Regions from separate parts of the Homo sapiens genome. Here all the other regions are linked to region 1. Evidence: promoter capture Hi-C in 16 types of primary human blood cells and fetal thymus (Javierre and others, 2016). All regions are on one chromosome and are shown on one strand. The core of a region is centred on a gene start or on the middle of the fragment in contact, and the rest is flanking DNA. Distances in the headings are between cores, read along the strand shown.

Evidence for each region. The method cuts DNA at HindIII sites, captures the fragments that hold promoters and counts their contacts. A CHiCAGO score of 5 or more calls a contact.
Region 2: a fragment that was not itself captured here is called in contact with the fragment with the promoter of CEACAM18 in region 1 in 2 of 17 cell types (monocytes and M0 macrophages); the score reaches 7.1 in monocytes.
Region 3: a contact is called between a fragment that was not itself captured here and the fragment with the promoter of CEACAM18 in region 1, in 4 of 17 cell types (monocytes, M2 macrophages, M0 macrophages and 1 more). The highest score is 17.6, in monocytes.
Region 4: the fragment with the promoter of SIGLEC9 here is called in contact with the fragment with the promoter of CEACAM18 in region 1 in 4 of 17 cell types (neutrophils, naive CD8 T cells, total CD8 T cells and 1 more); the score reaches 9.8 in neutrophils.
Region 5: a contact is called between the fragment with the promoter of SIGLEC7 here and the fragment with the promoter of CEACAM18 in region 1, in 11 of 17 cell types (fetal thymus, total B cells, neutrophils and 8 more). The highest score is 15.5, in fetal thymus.
Region 6: a contact is called between a fragment that was not itself captured here and the fragment with the promoter of CEACAM18 in region 1, in 5 of 17 cell types (naive CD4 T cells, naive B cells, naive CD8 T cells and 2 more). The highest score is 6.9, in naive CD4 T cells.

What each region holds. Positions count from the first base shown.
Region 1 is chr19:51,477,289-51,480,931 of GRCh38, reverse strand. CEACAM18 (CEA cell adhesion molecule 18) reads right to left here and starts at 2,393. Exons shown (of 6, transcript NM_001405061.1): 1 at 2,238-2,393; 2 at 252-599. The coding sequence starts at 2,289. The HindIII fragment of the contact is 9,749 bases long and covers 1-3,643 here.
Region 2 is chr19:51,846,270-51,849,912 of GRCh38, reverse strand. It overlaps a transcript of ZNF577 not described here. Among named protein-coding and RNA genes, the nearest start is that of ZNF577, 40 kb to the left of the region's middle. RefSeq lists an enhancer at 1,392-2,591. The HindIII fragment of the contact is 513 bases long and covers 1,561-2,073 here.
Region 3 is chr19:51,827,192-51,830,834 of GRCh38, reverse strand. It overlaps a transcript of ZNF577 not described here. Among named protein-coding and RNA genes, the nearest start is that of FPR3, 34 kb to the right of the region's middle. The HindIII fragment of the contact is 6,940 bases long and covers 1-3,643 here.
Region 4 is chr19:51,123,311-51,126,953 of GRCh38, reverse strand. SIGLEC9 (sialic acid binding Ig like lectin 9) reads right to left here and starts at 2,048. Exons shown (of 7, transcript NM_014441.3): 1 at 1,559-2,048; 2 at 1,079-1,357; 3 at 826-873. The coding sequence starts at 1,979. The HindIII fragment of the contact is 17,590 bases long and covers 1-3,643 here.
Region 5 is chr19:51,140,603-51,144,245 of GRCh38, reverse strand. It overlaps SIGLEC7 (sialic acid binding Ig like lectin 7), which reads right to left and starts at 1,945. Exons shown (of 7, transcript NM_014385.4): 1 at 1,444-1,945. The coding sequence starts at 1,876. The HindIII fragment of the contact is 9,764 bases long and covers 1-3,643 here.
Region 6 is chr19:51,751,861-51,755,503 of GRCh38, reverse strand. It overlaps FPR1 (formyl peptide receptor 1), which reads left to right and starts at 3,626. Exons shown (of 2, transcript NM_002029.4): 1 at 3,626-3,643. The HindIII fragment of the contact is 324 bases long and covers 2,232-2,555 here.

The DNA of each region.
Region 1 (3,643 bases), core at 1,144-3,643:
AACACAAATGGGCCAGGGTCCTGCAGTATGTATTTGCAGCCACTGTCAAATACAGGACTGCTTGTCTTCCAACTCCGCCCTCTCCTCCCACTAGCCCTCAGATCCCCCAGGAGCTGTCCATGGTACACAAGATTCCAGGGCGGCTCCGTGATTTCCACTCCCGGTGTCATGCTCTGTATAATGTCCTTCTCTCAAATGTGTCACATCTAGCTCTCCTTGGGGGTTGGGAAACACAGCACCTGCTAACCCACCTAGAACCTCCAGCCAGCCGGTTGCTCTTTGGGTCTCATTGCCTGCAACCACCCGAACAGTGTAGTTTCCCGTGTCATTTAATGCAGTCGGCCTGATCAACAGGCTGCCTTCTCTGTTCACTCTCTCCCTGCCAGTGTACATGGGCCCAGGCTGCTGGGCACTGGGCGGTTTGTGGCTGATAATCATGTTTCCTGCGCTGTCGTTTGCACCCCAGTACCAGCTGTATTCCTGAACATCCTCAGGGACCTTATCCAGGGCCACGACAGTCCGATATCCCTTGATCCCCAGGGTTTGGGTGATGAAGATTTGGCCAGAGGCCTGGCAGATCCCACAGGCCAGCAGACTGGCTGAAGAAGACAAGGAAAAAAGACAGAGAGAAATTCACAAAGAGATTCAGACTGGCTGAGAAGACAAGGAAAAAAGACACCATCCGGGAACGATTCCCAGAGACGCTGGTGAACCAGGCAAGAGTTTCTGGCTCCTGGTAGAGTCCCCAGCTTGTCCCCTCCTGTGCCTCCCCTCAGCCCCTGCCGTGGTCCATTTTACCCTTATCTTCTCCCAGGCCCTCCTCGCTAGCCACACAGCCTCCAATCCATCCTCACATCACAGTTACGTAAATGTTAATAAGCCCAAGTTGCGACCCTGTTCTCCTCTGCTCAAACACCTTCCATGGCTCCCCAGTGCTCTTAGGATACAGTCCAAACTCTTAGGTGGGTATATGAAACACTCTCAGCCAGAGCTGGTGTTTGTGACTCATCGAGCCTCCTTGTGGTGCACACCTACCCCATCCTGTCCCCACTATGCACCTTTTACTCATTTATTCCTGTAGTTATTTATCAGAAGACATGACTGCCACGCTGTATGCCCCAGGCCTCTACATAGCTCTCTTGGTGCACCACACCTTCTCCTAACTCCAGGCTTCGCACACGCTGTTCCCCATTCCCGGCAGGGACTCCTTCTCCCTCCTCTCCATCTGCACCCTCCTTGCTGACTCACTTCTATTCATCACTCAGGTCTCAGCTTGGATGTCTCCTCCACCCCAGCCTGGGTCAGGTGTCCCCTCTGGGCTCCCCCAGCTCCTCCTGGGCTCCCCCCATCCCAGCCATGACCTCTGGGGGTCCTCAGAGTCTGGGCACATATCTATATCTCGCCCTGGACTGTGGGCTCCAGGAGGGCAGGACTGCCCTGTCTCAGTCACCACTGAGTCCCCAGCGCCCCTGAGCACAGGCTGGACACAGGGGGAGTTCAGTAATGATTGTCTGGGTGAGAAATACTCCCCCGAGAATTTCTACATGTCTTTGATTTTGCATCTAAATTCACTGGAGTGGGTGTGAATGGAGGCGGCAGCCTGTTACCACATATGACATGGGCAGTTGTCCACTGCCCTGTGAACCCCAAGCCTGGGCTATGTGGAGGAGGCAGAGATGCCTGAGACCCCGGCTCTAGGCCTCACGTATGGACACACTGGACCTGTTCAAGGACAGTACACGTGGTAAAGCAGGACAGTTGTGCTTGTAGGGGGCACAGAAGGTCCTGGGCAAAGGTGAGGGGCTGGGAAGGAATCTGGCCTGAGAGGTGGGGGAGGGGATGGGGCAGATTGGGGCACCCAGTGGGAGGTGAGTGCAGGGAGGTGAGGGTGAAGGTCCAAGCTCCTGATTCCTGGGCGTAGATAGAAACACAGTTTCTCTCTCTCTCTCTCTGTGTGTGCGCGCGTGTGTGTGTGTGCATGTGCGTGTGCGTGTGTGTGTAACACCACATGTGTGGGTCTGTGCAGGGGTGTGTCTAGGGGCAAAGTGTGCCCACGTGTGTGAGCTCATGAAAGTTGTGCTGAGGGTCCTCCCCCTTCTCCTCTCCCCGACCCCTGCTCTGGGAGTTTCTTGATGTGCCCGTGGATGGGGATGGTCCCAGCCCCCTCCCCGCCGCTTTGCTCCTAGCTGCCCTTCCCTCAGTCCTGGGAAGCTCATCCAGCATCCAGCATCTCTTACCCATGAGGAAGACCCTCCTCCACAGGCTCCATCTGGGTCTGGAAAGGTCCATGAGCTGCCTGGGGTCCTCCAGGAGGAGGGGTCCCTCCAGAGACACAGCCACCTCCTCTGCTCCCTCCAAGACCTGTGTCTCCTGGCACAGAGGCTGCCGGTCTCGTCTCCCAGCCTTCAGGGCGGCCTTTCCTCCCCAGGGTGCACTCTGACCAGCAGGGGTGGGGCCTGGGGAAGACGGCTCTTGAGAGCCCAACCTTATCTTTATGGCTTTATGTTGCCTTTAGTTCATTATTTATTTACTTATTTTTATAATAATTTACATTTTTTTCTCTGGTCATGAAAAAACGGAAAAACACAGGCTCACTGTTGGGAAAACAAAGAAAACCAGAAAATACAGCCAAGTGCCTCAAAGATAGGACATCAAACTCCTCAACTGTATGTCCTGTTTCCATTTGGTTTGGTTTTCCTATGCAGGGCCCAGCTTTTTTTTTTTTTTTTTTTTTTTCACGGAGTCTCGCTCTGTCACCAGGCTGGAGTGCAATGGCATGATCTTGGCTCACCGCAACCTCGTCTTCCGGGTCCAAGTGATTCACCTGCCTCAGCCTCCCGAGTAGCTGGGACTACAGGCTCGTGCCACCACACCCAGCTAATTTTTGTGTTTTTAGTAGAGACGGGGTTACATCATGCTGGCCAGGATGGTCTTGATCTCTTGACCTCGTTATCCGCCCACCTCGGCCTCCCAAAGTGCTGAGATTACAGGTGTGAGCCACCGTGCCCGGTGTAGGGCCCAACTTTTAGACTGCCTGGGGCTGTTTTACAACTGGCTGCTTTCCTCCTCAACAGTGGACTATTTCTCTATGTCACTAAATATTCCTCCCATGACCATTGTGAATGGCTGCAGGGAATGCTCTTCTAGACCTGAACCAGTGTGTGTATAACCAGATCCCTTTGTGAAAGTGCTCACAAGCCAAAAAAATCCCTGAGAAATACAGTGGGGAAGGCTGTGAAGCGAGGGCTCTCTGACAACAAAAATTTTCACAGAAGACGCTGCAGAAACCATAGTCTTGCACAAAAGCCATTGCTTCCTTCCACCAAAAAAATACTTCTGTGACAAGTATTTGGACAGCAACCTCCGGTCCAAACTTGGACTGACGTCACCCTCATTAGGGATCCTTGTAGCCTAGGGTAATTATCTCAAACCATTTATGGGGTCCTCCTCATTTTTCCATTGAAAACCCTTTGTGTTCTTTTACCTCCCTGAATATGCACGTAGTTTACTATAGCACCCAGATTCCCATTGCAATGCCCCATTCCTGAATACATATCATTTTCTTTTAGAGAGCTTCTCTCTGTTTGTTATTTAGGTTGACACTTTGTTGTTGGAGGGTCAGGCTGTTTCTAAAAACAGGGAT
Region 2 (3,643 bases), core at 568-3,067, 370 kb before region 1:
TTGCTGTATATGTCAGTAGTTTGTTCTTTTGTTGACGAATAGTATTCCATTGTATAAGTAAACTGGAATAGGTTTATCTGCACCAGTTGATAGGCATCTGGGTTTTTCACTATTTTGAATAACTTCTCATTTCTTTTGGGTAAATGCTTAATAGTTAGATTGCTTGTTTAACATAAAAAGTGGCCAAACTTTTTCGAAGAAGTGGTACCATTTTTGAATGTTACTAACAGTGTATGAGGGTTCCAGTATCGTTTCCTTAACAGCGTTGTCTTTATTTGTACTGCTATAACAAAATGCTTGAGACTGGATAATTTATGAAGAACAGAAATGTAGTTGCTCACAGTTCTGTAGTGGGCAGGGAGTCTAAGATCAAGGTGCTGACATCTGGTGAAGATTTCTTGCTGTGTCCTCACATGGCAAAAGGCAGAAGGGGGTGAACCTACTCCTGTAAGTCCTTTTACAAGTGGTATGAAAGTAGAATTCTCATGAACGAAACGCCTTCCATTAAGCCTCACTTCCCAACACCATTGCACTGGGAATTAAGGTCTCAACACATGAATTTTAGGGGACACATTCAGAACATAGCAAATGTATTCTGAAGAGCAAATCTTCATCCTGCAGACAGGTTAACCCAAACACAAAGAACATAGAAAAAGGAAGTGTTATAAACCATCCATGCACAACCTGTTTTGTATGCGCAACCTATTTTGTTAAACTTACCCTTTCTCCATTGGAGAAGAGTAGGTAATGACACAGAAAGACCTGTGTATAGTTTCCTTCCCCAAACTGTGGAAATAGTTCAAGTTTTTATATAATAAAAGAGACAGAAAATGTGCACATATTTTAAAAGGGGGTAACAGCTTGGCAATTGTGTTGAATGTGTCAGTGCAGAAAACAGATTCATACAATGGAATATTAAAACAAAAAAATGGTTTAGAACTACATACATCAAAAAGATGATTTTTTTCCAGCTCATTATCTAAAGGCAATATAATCTTGACACCAAAACTAGACAGAGGCATTATTAAAATAAAAGATAATTACAGACCAAATATCCCATGAACTTAGATGTACAACTCCTTACAAAATATTAGCAAATTGGGGAAGAGATCAACTTTAAATAATGTTGTTGGGATAATTATCTAGCCAGGGAAAAAAGGAAGTTGACTCCTGCATCACAGTATTGACAAATGTCTGGGTGGGTTGTGCTCTTCAAGATACACAGGATCCCTGTGAGCTACAAATGCTTTTCTTGTGGCCTGGATTGTGGTTGCCCGTGTCTGCTCCACAGGCATCTTTACATTAGTTCTTAAGCCCTCACCATCTCTCCCCACAAACCACACATCCAGAGAGCTCTTCCCATACCACCTCTGTTCGTCCAGATCCAGTTCTAGGTCTCCTAATCTCCATCTTTCTCAGTCGTATGGAGAAAGATTCCATATCTTGGGTATTGTGAATAATGCTTCAGTAAATGTGGGAGTACAGATACCTCTTCCACATAGTGATTTCATTTCCTTTGGGTATATTCCCAGCGTCTTCCGCGTCTTAGCTGTACAAGCTTCCTAATTCTCCCTCCCTTCTTTCCCCTAGGGACCCAGGCTTTTCAATACGGCCTCACCTTTCGTGTGGTTTAGAAGAACGAGGCAGCGTGGGCGCAGCCATTTTCTGTTTCGGTGTGTTCTGATTGGTCAGGTCGGAAGACTAGTTGAAAGTGCCGAAATCCTACTAAGCATGCCCTACGCTGACAGGAAAGAAGGTGGAAGTACAGGATGAGAGGTCTTTAGAAGATTAGAAAGGATCAGTTAGATTTACTCCTTTTCGGCCTGGTCAGCGGAATCCGGTCGCCTAGAATGGCTGTCTCGCAGTCTGTACTGCGTCTTCCAAGATGGTGGCTTCCAACAGCATGTCAGGGCTTGGGCGCGACCATATTGCTGAGCGATCATTCCTGGTGGGACCGGGATCCGCGTCTGTAGATGGATCCTGGCCTTCCAAAGTGCTACTGAGTTTGTATAATAGCTGGAAAGCCTGGCCATCCAGCCCAGTGAGCAGAAGAGGAAATGACGTATGGAAGCTTTGCCTTCCAGGGAGTAAATTCACGGGACTCCTGTGTGAGATTACATTTGACTCTGCCTAAAGCCCTTAGGAATCCCGCAGCGCTGTGGGAATTCCGTGACTTGGGATTGGTTTCTGATGAGTACCATCTGGGGTTGCCGTTTAAGGCCGCTTCGGGGTTGTTGAGGGCTTTTAGGGCCGGCATCAGTGTTTAGAGCTGTGGATTGAGGAAGAAACTAGAGACCATTCTCTCGTTTCTCGTGAAATATCCTCTCCTCATCGTGCTCCCTGCCACAGAGAGAGAGGCCTGGGAGAGCCACCGATGGAGGGGGCCGTCAGGATGTGGTCGGCGAGGACAGGGATTGGCGGTTAGTGATCTGAGGTTTCAGGGGTCCAAGTTTGAGTATTTGGAGGGTCCGTTTTATGCTCCACTTGAAAGTAGGTGTCTGGGGAGGTGTGAGTGAGGCAACAGCAAGATGCTTGGGTGGAGAGCAACACGGACATCGACGGGAGAGGCTGGTGGGGCTGGAACATAAGGAGGCCTCAGCTGTACAGACATTTGGGTGCTGTATTTTACATTGAGGTATTATATTTCCCAATATCTTATGTCGAAGAATTTCAAGTATATAGAAAACTCGAAAGAATAGCAATATGATAACCTGTACAACCAAAATTCATGAGTTGTCAAAATCGTGTCATAAATGCTATGTGTGTGCATGTGTGTGCGTACACGAGTGTTTGTATACACTTGAAATTAGTACTAGCTTTTTATGTCAATTCTACCCTATTTTGTGTGACTTTGGGCAAGATACCCAACTTCTGTAAGTCTCAGTTTTTCCATTATGACAAATTGAAAATATCTACCTTGCAGATGGGTTTTGAGGATTGAGTGAGGTAGTGCATTTGAAGTCCCTGACAAAGTGCTGGCATGTAATGTATTAGTCAGCTTGGGCTGCCATAACAAAATACCATAGACTGAGTGGCTTAAACAAGAGAAACTTGTTTTCTTATAGTTCTGGAAGCTGGAAGTCCGTGATCACAGTGCCAGTGTGGGATGAGTTTTGGTGAGAGATCTTTTTCTGGTTTGCAGATGGCCATCTGTTTTCATATGGCAGTAGGGGGAGAATGCAAATTCTCTTCTTGTTTTTTTTTTGAGATGGAGTCTCGCTCTGTGGCCCAGGCTGGAGTGCAGTGGCGCGATCTCGGCTCACTGCAACCTCTGCCTCCCGGGTTCAAGTGATTCTCATTCCTTAGCCTCCCAAGTAGCAGTGATTACAGGCGTTTGCACCACACCTGGCTAATTTTCTGTATTTTTAGTAGAGACACGGTTTTGCTATATTGGCCAGGCTGGTCTCAAACTCCTGGCCTCAAGTGATCCACCGGCCTCGGCCTCCCAAAGAGTTGGCATTACAGGTATTAGCCATGGCACCCAGCCAATATCTCTTCTTTTAAGGTCACTAATTCCATATTGAAGGCCCACCCTCATGACCTCATCTAACCCTAGTTACCTTCCAGTGACTCATCTGCAAATACGTATTAATAGATACTTGACAAAAGGTAGCTATTATTATGCAAATGTATACCTTTTATT
Region 3 (3,643 bases), core at 728-3,227, 350 kb before region 1:
ACATTACCTAGGATGACTGCATTGATGCAAATAGATGAGGGGGGTCTAGAATTGAGCCCTCGGGTACACCAACATTTAAAAGTCAGAAAAGAGCCAGTCAAGGAGATTGAGAAAGATAAATCACTGAGGTAGGAAGAAAACCAAACAAGTGTGATGTCACCAAGAGAATTATATATTTTAAAATAAAAGGGTGTGGACAACTGAGTCATATATGCTTAGGGGCCTAAGATTCCCATCATTATCAGATAAGCATATATGACTTAGATTTACTCCATTGGATTCATAGGCAAGCACCAAATGTCTGAACCTGCAGTGCAGTAACATGGCAATGGATGTCACTGTTGTCCTTGATAAGAGTAGTCCCACTGCAGTAATCAGGACATGAACCCATTTAGAATGAGTTCTGGAGAAAATGTGAAATGAGGAAGTAGAGAAAGAAACTGGAAGTGACCCTTGAGTTTGCTGTCAAGGAGAGCAGAGAAATTTGTTGTAAAGTTCAGGAGGACGCGTGTGGTACAAAAGGTTTTTATGTTTTCAGTTAGTAGATTAGAGAACAGATGTATATGCTGATGGCAAAAACACAAAAAGAAAATGGCATGATAAAGTAGACAGAGAGACTATTTTCATTTCTTCCACTCAATTTCTACTAATTTATATTAGTTAATGCTTCATCTTTCCTCTGTTTTTTTTTTTTTTTTTAAACACTAGAAGCATATGCTATGTCAGTCAGGTTTCCACCAGATAAATAGGACTCAAAATGGATCACAGACCTAAATGTAAAAGACAAAATTATAAAACTCCTAGAAGATAACAGGAGAAAATCTAGATGACCTTGGGTTTGGCACCCTGTTGTTTTGACTTTACAAATTGTTACTAAAAACATCTGGGGGTGAGCTCCATTTGCACTGGCCTTGTGGGCAGTTGTTTCCCTTTTGAAGGTGCCCCACTTGACCTCTGAGTGGCTAGTGGGGACAAGGAGTGATAGCAGGAAGGAATGCAGCAACCAAGGAGGCACTGGCCTCAGCAGCACTTGCTCTTGAAAATTGCCAAGGGGACTTGTGCAGTTGCCATATTACAGGTTAGGCTTAGGTGACTTGATCCTTTCATCCTGGCTCTCCTTTATCAACACACTGAAGCCCAGCATTTTATCATCTTTTCTGACTTCACTATGAGGGAATTGCTGCTACCCAGGAGCCTGGTATCCTGTGGCTCTCTCATCAGTGAGATGTGTAGGAGATCGGTCAGGATGGTGGGAAAAGTTGTAAGATAAATTATAGGAAAAGGATGCAAACCTTCTTGGAAGGCCTGGGATTTGCATAGCTTCAGAAGAGGATTTGGCTGAAGGCAGCTGAATTTTCTCAGAATGGATAACAAGGAAGTGTAAAGGAATTGATCTAGATAAGTTAGTTTACTTAGGCCTCGGAACCTGGTATTTAATCATCTGTGCACAGGACTGCTGTCTTGGGGGGTGGGGGGTGACAATGTTAATTACCCACAAGACGTGTTGACTCCAGGCCTTTGTCATTAAATCTGTACTGAATAAATGCCCACAGTGCCAGCTTGTCGGGGCTGTGGCTACTGACTCTTTACAGCTCCCTCCTCGGTGTCTGTGAGCTGCCCAGTCCCCTAGCCTGCTTTTTCACTGGATATCAGTCTCAGAGTGCATTTTTCATCTGTCATTCGGCCAGGTTGGACCCTGGCAGAGATGGACATAGAGTTTCACCATACTGGCCAGCTCACTCTGGCTGGAGACCAGGACTTTGCAACTTATACCCAGTACAGGCCAGACTACTACCAAGACCCCATGTAACAAGAGCAGCATATATAGCTCAAGGGACAACGTGCCCTCAAGTAGTGGCCTGTCACCAGGGGCCTGATTAGAGAAAGAGTGACTACTGTTCATAGCGAAACATCCTCATTACAATGAAACCTGCCCTCCAGGAGCTGCAGGGGAGCCTGAAGGCTCAGAGAGCTGTCTATATTCACCAGAGTTTCTGGAGAGTCCCCAAGGCAACACCTGACAACAGCAGTACTAAGTTGCACAAAGCAACAAAAAATCTAAAACCAGCAAGCAGTAGTGCTGTCCCAGACCGACCAGGCCTGATACAGGAAGTTAGTGAGCCATCCACATGGACATACATTGGGAAGTATTTCTTTGTGGTAACTGTCCCATAACTTTAAAAAAAAAATCTCAGTTTCCTGAACCCACAATATATCATAATGCAATGGGAATTGAGACTCCACAATGAAAACTCCTAAAGAGGAAAAGAAAAATGGAGAGGATGTAGCAGGCACTGTTCTACTGCAATTAACCAAGGCCAGTGGGAAGGAATAGTAAGAATCCCCTGTCCTGGCAGTGGAGGAAGTCTCTTAATTAGCCCATCTGGAAGCCCTGGCTCTCCTATCTAGGTTTTGTCCTTGTGCCTTTTTATTTTCTTTTTCTTTTTCTTCTCCTTTTTTTTTTTTTGAGATGGAATCTTTCTCTGTCTCCCAGGCTAGAGTGCAGTGGCACATTCTCAGCTCATTGCAACCTTCACCTCCCAGGTTCAAACAATTCTCCTTCCTCAGTCTTCCAAGTAGCTGGGATTATAGGTGCACACCACCATGCCCAGATAATTTTTGTATTTTTAGTACAGACAGCGTTTCAACATGTTGGCCAGGCTGGTCTAGAACTCTTGACCTCAAATGATCCACTCACCTCGGCCTCCCAAAGTGCTGGGATTACTGGAGTCAGCCATCATGCCCAGCCTTGTTCCTTATTTTCTATGGCTACACCTTGGCTGGGCATTTAAGAATATACACCTCCTGGGAACTCTAAAGCATTTATAGGAGTCAAACGTGCAAATGAAATGCGCAAAGTGCTCTGCCTTGGAAATGCAATAACTTTAGGAGAGACAGAAGGGAAAAGGAGAAGAAAATGAGTAAAGCAGTGGGGTGAGTGAGAACACTGATAACAGGATTGCCTGATATTCATGTTGAGTGGTGTCTTTTGCCAGTGCATCAGGAAAGTATGTTCACAATACAGAATTGACAATTTCTGAGTGTTTATGTGCAGAAAGCAAGGTAAAGGGCTGAGTTATGAGTTATTTATTTAAATATGAAGTCTTTAGGCAATGGTTAACCAGAGTAGTTTACTTAAGCAGAAACTCAAAATCAGAAATGTTCATGAAAATGTAAGCCAGCTGGGAATTTACAAATACTGTGGACATGAGGATGGGAATTTACTAGACCTGACCTGATTCATATTATGAGGGCTGGAGATAATTTTGACTGGACATTAAGTGATATTATTGTTTATCAATGCCATAAACATTTATTGAGTGCCTATCACATATCAGACACTATCTTATTTGCAGGGGATTGGGATCCATCAGCAAACAATATAGACCAAAATACCTGCCCTCAGATAGCTTACATTCTCATTACTTGAAAGAAACATATCAAGTACCATACAGTTATTATACTGTCTCATGCCAATAAGTGAAACCACATTTGCAAAAATTTTGACAGTGAGAGAAATCTAACGTGGCTGACTCCTTCCTGCCTCTAGCCTCAAAGGTTATCTGTCTTTGTTCACTCCTGGTTGTAGGCTAAGATAACTGGGGAAGAATTTAGTTTATAGTTTAACATGGAAGCAAGGATG
Region 4 (3,643 bases), core at 799-3,298, 350 kb after region 1:
ACAGCAACTGACACACAGACATAGACTGAAGTTCTGGAAACACACACTTTCACCACTCACTGCTGGGAATGTAAACTTCTCCCCGCTTCATCGAGAACAGTTTGGGCTTATCTTTCAAAATAAGAAAGAACATATAATGTAGCTACATTTTGCTTTTAGGAACTTAACCCACAGGCTTAGATATTCCTGTGGAAGTAGATACAAGATTGTTCTATCCTGCCGTAGGATGAAATTAGTGCCGTGATCTTCCATTAGGAGATGCCACAAAATCAGAGTCCATCCATGCAGTGGACTCACACACAGCCCTAGAGGAGGGTGCGGACAGTCTCACTACGGACGTCAAACCACCTCTGAGATCCTCCAGGTGTACAAACCGAGACTCAGGGCAGCCTGGATGGACAGTGGTTGGTTCTGGGGAGGGGGGCAGGCATCGGAGGAGAGCCTTTGCTCTGCAATTTGAATTTTTGCCCATGGACATTTATCACCTGTCCAGAAGTACTTAGATCAGAACTATCAGAAATAAACAGATAAGGGTGGAGATGTATTCAGGAGATACATGAGAAGGAGCCTCAAAGCCTGGTCCTGCTGTGTGAATGCCACCCTCTTCTTGTTTGAGGCTGAGGGGGGGGTGTGTGGGGGAGTCCAAGGGAGGTGATGGGAGGATGGGAACAAGTGGCCTTGGGGCCTAAGGATACAGAGGGGCCCTGAGTTCACCCACAAGGACATCCCTGTTTGCCAAAGTGAGTCCAGGTTGAGGAATAAGCCAGCCCCATCCTGACCTGAAGGCCCTGCTCCTCCAGCCCCAGGGAGGGAGCTCCATCCTACCTGTGCCGTCTCCTTGGAAGACAGTCATGGTCAAGTTCTGAGGCGGGTCTGGGACAGAAAGACATGGAGACCCGCATCACTGTGAGGGCTGGGGACACTGGCCCTGTCTGTCCCCAGGAGCCGCATAAACAGGGAAGGCAGAGCCAGTGTCCTCCTGACCCCACCACCAGCCCAGATTCCGGGACCCAGCACCCAGTGTCCAGGCTTGACGCTCACCCCATCAGGGACCCAGGCGTCCCGGCCCAGCACTCACAGGACACGTTGAGATGGACGGTCTTGTTCGTGGTCACGCTGGCCCCAGGGAAGGTCACCTGACAGGTGAGGCTGGTGCCATGGTCCTGGGGCTGTGGGATGAGGGTGAGCACCGAGGAGCGGGTGGTGGAGGGGTCCAGGGGGGACACGGAGGTCCCTATCCAGGAGATCATAGGGGGTGTCCCCTGCTCACAGGCCCAGGGCACAGAGCAGGTCAGATTCTGGGGGCAGCCGGACTCCAGGGTGCCTGGGATGAGGATGTTGGGCCTGTGGGTCAAGGCTGGTGAAGAGAGGGGGACTCAGGATCAGGTCAGAGGATCCATGGTGCAGCCCTGGGGGGAGCTCAGGCTCTGGTCCAGCTCCTGCCCTGAGCCAACTCGCTTCACCCTAAGCCCTCTCCTGGGGCAGGGGCTCCATCCCAGCCTTTCCCTGCCGCCCCCATGACCTTTCCCTGTGGCCTTTCCTGGAGCCTGTGCCTTACCTGTCACATTCACAGAGAGCCGGTGATGTTTATAATTCCATTTTATACTTCCTTTCTCCATACGAAAGAAGTATCTCCCCGCATCACTTCTTCTGGCATCTCTGATGCTCAGGGTGCAATTCTTGGTATGTGGGTCCCCAAGGAGGTGGAATCGGTCCCGAGTCTCCTCCCACACTGCCCGAGCTGGGTTGTTTGTGGCCACTGGAGCATCCTGGTCTGTATTGGCCCCTTCCCGGAACCAGTAGCCATGAACTACTGGGCCAGGGTAAATCCAGCCATGCGAGGGGTAGGAGAAGGAGCAGGGCACATGGACACACAGGCCTTCCTGCACCGTCACGGAACTCTGCATCGTCAGCAGTTTACTTGTCTGTCCTTCCGCCCTCTCCCTCCCCCAGAGCAGGGGCAGCAGCAGCAGCAGCATGTCTGGGGTTAGAGGTGCCAGGGCCGCGAGGGAACGTCTGTTCCTCAGGGTTCTTCTCTCAGGAACTGCGGGCTCAAGACTTAGAGGAGGCCCTACAGGAAGACAGGGGCGAGGTCGGAACAGTGACCTCCTCAGAGGAGGAACTTTACACCCAGACACTGTCAGGCCCGGGTCAGCCCTGGGAGATCCACCGTCCACCACCCCATGTTCACTCCTGGGTCCCTGAGGCCAGAGCGGGAGACAGACTCACCCAGATTCCCACCCCATGCAGGGCCCACCCCACCTCCTGCCTCCCTCTCAATGCCCTTCCCCTTAGGTGACATTTTCTGCAGGGTGAAAATGAGTCCCATCTGGCCAGACCCCTGAGTCAGAGGCTGTGGATATCTGCGTAGCTCAGAGGTGGGACTTGGGGCCATGAGAGATGGGGGTGCAGGTGGGGTGAGCAGGCAGCCTCTCATCCCCCCCAAGCAAGCACGAGGTGGGCACCCCCTTTCTGCACAACGAGGTCAACACAGCAGAGCTGGACACTGTCCCCAAGGGGTCACTGTGCGGAGGGGAGACATGGAGGCTCCTGACGTCTGAGCTGTCCACGGCAGGAGCTTCAGTTGGGGGGCACAGGCAGGATGGGGTCACTCTCCCGTAGGTCAGGGGTTCAATCTCAGGAGGACTGAGCAGAGGGACATGGGGCTGTGGAGGTGAGGATTCTATGTGTTGATACACGCCAAGGACACAGAGGGGAGCCTGGCTCGCAGGAGGTCTGGGAAACTGAGGCTGTGACTGTTGTACTGTGGGGCTTGGAAGGGAGGAAATTCGGAAGAAAAGGGGCAGATTTCAAAAGGGAAGATATTTCTCCTTTCCTCACTGCACCACGAAGGGTTTCTTCACCACCGATGTCTCGCTCAGCCACACTTCCCTGGTTACTCCAGAACATGAGGGATCAGCTGGCCCTGGGGCTTTGCTTCTGCAAGCTCTGCTCCCAGGGGTCCCGGTGAACAGGAGATGTGGAGTGAGGACACCAGCCCCGGGGCATGCACCCTCCGCGATGGGCAGGATTTCATGGGAGAAGAAACATGCACCTGAATTCAGCAGAAGATTTTTTGTAACTGTGTGGCTGGGCTGGGAGGAACTGGGAGTATCCTGTGTGGTGGAGCCTCCTTAGACCGATGTCAGTTTTCTAGAAATATTTTTGGGAGAAATATAAGCCATATAGATAAAAATGTCTTCCCCCCAAGAAAAAATCTCAGCGGTTTACACATATGAACATGCTTAGAGAAACAGAACACTGGGGATGCCGCAACACCTCCTCTTTGTTACCCCACTTCCTGTCAGCCACACCCCACTTCCTCCTGAAGCAGCCCCAGCCTCACTTTAACGCTAATGGTCTCCATGCTTTTCTAGGTAGTTTTATCATCTGTGCACGTTGCCGTGAATACCTCAGGCCCCCATGTTTGCCCAGTCGCTCCCTGGGAAGTTGCAGCATCTCAACTGCAATGGTCAGAAGGGCTGAGCCATGGCTGACAGTGTTGTCCTGCATCTGTTCTGCAGGGCTGGGTGTCCACATCTGAGTTCTGTCTTGAGCAGGAGGGGCTCAGTCAGGCCTCTCAGCACTGCTCCCCTGGGGCCCTCCACACCTGCAGAGCCAACACGGGCCTCAGATTAGCATC
Region 5 (3,643 bases), core at 696-3,195, 340 kb after region 1:
CATGACCTTTCCCTGTGGTGTCTCCTGGAGCCTGTGCCTTATCTGTCACATTCACAGAGAGCTGCTTCGTTTTGTAATTCCATCTTATCTGTCCTCTCTCCACCTGGAAGTAGTAGTTCCTCAAATCCCCCTTCCTGGCATCTCTGATGCTCAGGGAGCAGTTGTTGGTCTTCAGGTCCCCAAGGAGGTGGAATCGGCCCCGTGTCTCCTGCACTTTTCCATTTGGGATGTTTGTGGCCACTGGATTATTCCATTGTATATTGATCCCTTTCTTAAACCAGCATCCATGGACAGGGCTAGAGTCAGTTCAGTTGTAATAGGGTTAAAGGACACTGCAGGGCACAGAGACGCACTAGCCCTCCTGCACCATCACCAACTCCAGCACCTCCAGCCTGTATCTTGACAGTGGGGCCTGGGACGCTGTGGGGAAATGAGGCTCAGCCCAGCCCCGACTGTCCCTCTCTTCATTTGCCCACAAGAGAGGCAGCAGCATCTCTGAGACAGAGGGTTCCTGGGCTCCTTGTGTGAGCAGAGAAGTGGGAGGGAGAGGAGGGGCAGGGCTGTGGGACCCACAGGGGGCTGGAGAGGGGCTGGAGAGGAGCTGGAGACCTCAACCCAGCACGAAAGAGAAACTACAAACCCACATGCTATAGGAACTGGTTCCCTCTGCACAGAGTGAAGGAAACCCTGAAGCTCAGAGACCCTAGAGACCCACCCAGGGAGGAGAAGAGACCGTGTCCCACCTCCTACCTCCGGGCTTCCCTGGAGCACCAGGGCCTGCACCAGACACGTAGGTCCTGCCCTCCCGGCCTCTGGACCATCGTGGAGGTCCCTCCTGTCTTTTGAGCATCTAAATGTGGATCTCCGAGGACCTCAGGGCATGAGAGATGGAGGGGCCGTGTGCTGAGTCTCCCTGTCCAGGCTCAGGTGCCTCTGCTGCCCTTGGTTTGCGCCAGGAAGTGCTTCCTCCCTGGCCTGGCCTGAGAGAGTCACGGGGTTGTGTAGACCTAAGGCTCTCAACTGGGGAGGACTTAACCCCCCAGGACGTTTAACAATGTGTGGAGATAATTGTTATTGTCTCACTGCATGGGTGGAGTGGGTGCTTCTGGCATCTGGTGGGGAGAGGCCTGGGATGGTGCTAAACCCCGGCCATGCCTAGGACAGGCCCCAAAACAAGGAGTCATAAGGCCCCACATGCCACAATGCCAGCGTCAGAGGCAGGATGAGGATGTCAGGCCTGTGGGTCAGGGCTGGTGAGGGGAGGGGCCTGCAGGATCAGGAGGGGCATCCAAGGTGCGGTCCTGGGGAAGCTCAGGCTCTGGTCCAGCTCCTCTCCTGAGTCCATCACCCCCGGCCCCCTCCCAGGACATGTGTCCCGTCTCAGCCGTGCCCTAAAGCCCTCATCACATTTGCCTTTGGCCTCTCTTGGAGCCCGTGCCTTACCTGTCACGTTCACAGAGAGCTGGTCATATTTATAATTCCATTTTATATTTCCTTTCTCCATACGAAAGAAGTATCTCCCCGCATCACTCATTCTGGCATCTCTGATGCTCAGGGTGCAATTTTTGGTCTGTGGGTCCCCAAGGAGGTGGAATCGGTCCCGAGTTTCCTCCTGCACTGCCCAAGCTGGGTTGTTTGTGGCCACTGGAGCCTTCCAGCTTATATCATTCCCTGCCCGGAACCAGTAGCCATGAACTGGGTCAGAGTCAGTCTGGCTGTCCACTGGGTAGGAGAAGGAGCAGCGCACATGGACACACATGCCCTCTTGCACGGTCACGGAACTCTGCATCGTCAGCGAGTAATCCTTCCGGTTACTCTTCTGTCCTTCCACCCTCTCCCTCCCCCAGAGCAGGGGCAGCAGCAGCAGCAGCAGCATATCTGGGGTTGGAGGTGCCAGGGCCGCGAGGGAACGTCTGTTCCTCAGGGTTCTTCTCTCAGGAACTGCGGGCTCAAGACTTAGAAGAGGCCCTACAGGAAGTCGGTGGTGAGGTCAAAACAGTGACCTCCTTAGAAGAAGAACTTCACACACAGACACTGTCAGGGCTGGGTCAGCCCTGGGAGATCCACCGTCCACCACCCGACATTCACTCCTGGGTCCCTGAGGCCAGAGCGGGAGACAGACTCACCCAGATTCCCACCCCATGCAGGGCCCACCCCACCTCCTGCCTCCCTCTCAATGCCTTTCCCTTTAGGTGATATTTTCTGCAGGGTGAAAATAACTCCCATCTGCCCAGACCCCTGAGTCACAGGCTGTGGATGTCTGCGTAGCTCAGAAGTGGGACTCGGGGCCATGAGAGACAGGGGTGCAGGTGGGGTGAACAGGCAGCCTCTCATCCCTCCCTCAGCAGCCACGAGGTGGGCACCCCCTTTCTGCACAATGAGGTCAACACAGCAGAGCCGGACACTGTCCCCAAGGAGTCACTGTGTGGTGGGGAGACACTGAGTCTCCTGACGTTTGAGCTCCCCATGACAGGAGCTTCAGTGGGGGGCACAGGCAGGGTGGGGTCACTCTCCCCTAGGTCGGGGGTTCAGTCTCAGGAGGACCGAGCAGACGGACATGGGGCTGTGAAGGTGAGGATTGCGCCTGTTGATACACGCCAAGGACACGGAGGGGAGCCCAGCCTGCAGGAGGCCGGGGAAGCTGAGGCTGTGATTGTTGTATTGTGGGGCTTGGTAGACAGGAAAGTCATAAGGGAAAGGATCAATATGAAAAGAGCAGACACTATTCCCATCCTCACAGCTCTCTGAGCACAAGGACATTTCCCTTCACCACTGCTATCTCATGAGGCCTGGTTAGTGCAGAGTGTGAGGGGTCTGCTGGCCCTGGGGCTTTGCTCCTGCAGGAACTGCTCCTAGGGGTTCAGGTGAACAGGAGACGTGGAGCAAAGACACCAGCCCCGGGGCGTCCACCCTCAGTGATGGGCGCGATTTTCTGAGAGAAGAAACACGCACCTGACTTCAACAGAAGATTATTTTAAACTGTGTGACTGGGCTGGGAGGAAGTGGGAAAAATCCTGCAAGCTGCAGCCCCCTTAGATCCAGGCCAGCTTTTCTTGAAACAGTTTTTTTTGAGCGGGGAGAAACACAAGACATGTACATAAAAGTGTCCCCTAAAAACCAACTCAGTGATTCACACAAAATAAGCACCCTTGAAGAACTAGAACACAAAAGAACTGTCAAGTCTGTCCCTTGAAATGAAGAAAGAGATTTTATTAATTCATTCACCCTTACATTCCCCTTTCCTATTGGCCATGCCCCCGCTCCCTCCTGAAGGAGCCCCTAGCCTCACTTTAATGATAATAGTCTTCCTGCTGTTCTATGTAGTTTTATCATCGGCACATGCTGCCTTGAAAATTCTAACTTCACGTAGGTTTTCCTGAAGATGTTGTATACATAGAAAATCCCAGTCTGTTTTCTTCCATACAACTGCATTGATCTGCTCAGCCCACACTGTCCCCTAATTGTCCATAACCTAGAGATCATTTGGCTGTAACGATTGAGAGAGGAAGATGCTGGGTTTGGGCGTCCGAAGCCACTCCCCGCCCTCACCTCCAATCCCTGCATTTGCAGCTAGTATCTCATCCTGCAGACCAATCTGCCTCCTGGGCGCCTCCTCCTTGCCCAGCCACTCTCTCCCCATAAG
Region 6 (3,643 bases), core at 1,144-3,643, 270 kb before region 1:
TGTGACACAATTTAGTCCTTAACAGAGTTGTGGGAGAAGGTGAGGAGAGCAAAGGCTGCAGATGAGTTTGAAAGGAAACAGGAACCCAAAATGATGTGTCTGAACATCAAGGGCAGGTCTGAGCTAGAGACAGGGGTCTGGTGAATGTTAGCTGAGGTGTGGTTCAAGTTTTAAGCATGGATGGGTTCACCGCAGAGAACGTGAAACAGCAGATAGAGAGGTTTATGTAATTACTAAGATATTGATAATACTTATTGCACTGGAATTCATGCCAAGTGCTTTGTATCACTGATCTTATTTGTTCTGCTCCAGAAAACACCTCTGTAAGTATCATTGCTCTCAATTCACAGGTGAAGTGTCTGGGACCCAGTGCAGTTAAATCAGGGGTCAAATCTAGCCACCGCTTGTTTTTGTATGGCCTGAGAGCCAAGAATGGCTTTAATATTTCTTACCGGCTAAAGAAAATCAAATGAAGGGTATTTTGTGCCATGCAAAACTTATATGAAGTCCAATTGTCGTGTTTTAAATAAAGTTTTATTGACATACAGTCATGCTCCTCATTTACAACTTTGCTTGTGGCTGTTTTCAGGCTACAACAGCAGAGCCAAGGAGTTGTGATGGAGACCCTATGGCCTGCCAAATGAAATATATTGACCATCTGGCTCTTCATAGGAAATGTTTGTGGCCCAGTGCAGTGGTTCCGTCCTGTAATCCCAGCACTTTGGGAGGCCAAGGCAAGTGATTGTTTGAGGTCAGGAGTTCAAGACCAGCCTGGTCAACGTGGCAAAACCATATCTCTACTTAAAAAATACAAAAATTAGCCAGGCGTGGTGGCGGGCACCTGTAATCCCAGCTACTGGAGAGGCTGAGGCAGGGGAATCACTTGAACCTAGGAGGCAAAACTGCAGTGAGCCAAGATCACACCACCGTACTCCAGCCTGGGTGACACAGTGAGACTCTGTCTCAAAAAAAAAAAGTTGGGGGAAATGTTTGAGACCCCTGGATTAGCTGGCTTGTCCGGAGCTAGTGAACAGTAGTCCTGGGATTCTAGTCCAGGCAATCTGGCTTTACCACCTCAGTCCAGTGCTTTACTGGGAGGCTGTGCTGCTCGCCGAGGCCATTTCTCATGTTTCAGTTACCAGAAGAGTCAGGGACTTTTGCAGCATAGGCAGGAATACTCCCATTCCGGTCAACCCTAAGACATCTTCCCTTTTAGCCTTACGCAAACACAGAAGTGGAAGTCCATTTTAAGACTTTCGCTTTTTTCTTCACCATAGTCACTTTGGAACACACACTTGGCTCTATTTTTGCCCAACCTAGTGTGCTAATCACAGGCCATTTGGTAGCCAGGAAGAAAACCTACTTATGTTTTAGAAAAGAGGGCTCATGGGAAACAGGTAGGGGTGTCCCAGGACCCCCGTTTTAGGAAGAACAGTCAGACTTCAAAAGACCTACAAATTTTTCTGGCAATTACTCTCTGTGGAGTCCCTTGTCTCTTGTTTTCTCTTGACATTTGGGCCCTTCTCCTCTGTGCATAATGATGTCCTCTGCCATTCCCTTTATTTTAATCCCCTTACAAAGTGTTGGCTTCCATGTGACTCCTAGGCACGTCTTCATTTGTTACCCTTCATACCTTGGGAATCTTCTAAAATGCATCTGTTGTTATGATCCCAAGAAAATGTTTATAAAATACAAACACAAATGTTTATAAAGTACAAATGAACATATCACCCTTCTGATTAAAGATCTTCAGTGATTCTCCATCTCATCCCCATCCTCCTGGTGTGGGATGCTGGAGTGTAGCAGTCCCCAACATTTTTGGCACCAGGGACCAGTTTCATAAAAAACAATTTCTCCATGGGGTGGCGGGGTAGATGGTTTCAGGATGATTTAAGCACATTGCATTTATTGTAGACTTTATTTCTATTATTATTATTACATTGTAATACACAATGAAATAATTATACAACTCACAATGATGTAGAATCCGTGGGAGCCCTGAGCTTGCTTTCCCGCAACTAGACAGTCCCATCTGGGAGTGATGGGAGACAGTGACAGATCATCAGGCATTAGATTCTCATAAGGAGCACACAACCCAGATCCCTGGCATGCACAGTTCACAGTAGGGTTCACACTGTTATGAGAATCTAATGCCGCCACTAATCTGACAGGAGGCAGAGCTCAGGCAGTAATGCCAGCAATGGGGAGTGGCTATAAATACAGATGAAGCTTCTCTTGCTCACCTGCCAGTCACCTGCTGTGCAGCCCACTTCCTAACAGGCCACAGACCGGTATCGGTCTGTGTATTGGTCTATGGCCTGGAGGTTGGGGACCCCTGCTGTAATGTGAAGTCAGGAGCTGTGGTAGCTTTCTTGGAGCCATGAAGTGGCAATCCCCAGGAAAAAAAGTCACCATATTAGGGATAAAAAAGAGAAAAGATTAAAATGAATGTAGTTCTTGATGATATTTTCCAGATATAACCTAACCTAGTATTACCCTCTTGCAAAATTCTTGTAAAGTAAACCATAAATTTCGTCTTGGTTCTAAGCTAAGCTTGTCCAGCCCATGGCCTAAGATGGCTTTGAATGCAGCCCAACACAAATTCATAAACTTTCTTAAAACATTATCAGATTTTTGGGGGATTTTTTTTTTTTTTTTTTTTTTTAGCTCATCAGGTATCGTTAGTGTTAGTGTATTTTATGTGTGGCCCAAGACAATTCTTCTTCTTCCAGTGTGGCCCAGGGAAGGCAAAAGATTGGACACCCCTTGTTGAAGCCATTGTTAGGTGTAATTGTAAATTATAAATTACTTAGAATTAAAAACAGCCCGGCTCATGCCTGTAATCCCAGCATTTGGGGAGGCTGAGGCAGGAGGATCACTAAACCCAGGGGTCTGAGACATGCCTGGGCAACGTAGCAGGATACTGTCTCTAAAAGAAAAGAAAAAACAGTCTTAATGCAACAATGCCTTGGTAATAATGCTTTTAGAATCAGTGTCGTTATCTCTGATTCTGTAACTGTCTTACCATATTTCTCCATATCACTCTGATACCCTTGGAAGGATGCTTAACATTTCAGAAAAACGGTTATTTCTTTGGGCTAGAAGACTACAAATGAGCTTCCACAAGATCAGAGGATTATGGGGTTAATCTTGGTGGTGTGCATGGGTGTGGACGCGCTGTCCTGCCAACTGTCTCAACTTCCCCCACTCCCTTACCTCTCTCTGTGTTTCTGGTCTCCATCCCTCATGACTTCTTCTCTTCCTTTCATTGCCTCCCTCTGATTCTTCTCACCACAGTGCTTGCTGCTTTCTTTACCTTGACCCTTGGAGGGAGCAGGGGCCCGGACACTTGGATTTCTTGGCCCTTGTTGTTGAGAGCACTGAACCTCTGCATCCCACAGAGACTGAGGCTGAGAAATACAGTCAGGTACATGAGTTTCTAAACAGGCCCAGCCCACTGTCCTAATGCCATTAAAGCAGACAGTATATTGGTGTATTCTTGGGGCCATCAAAAATCAGAAGAAGCTCAGACTTCCTATTTCCTGCTACCCAGCTGGTTTTAGTTCCTTTACCCCTCCTCCTGTTCCTTGGTGTATGTTTTGCTGCAATCATTAGAGCCTGAGTCACTCTCCCCAGGAGACCC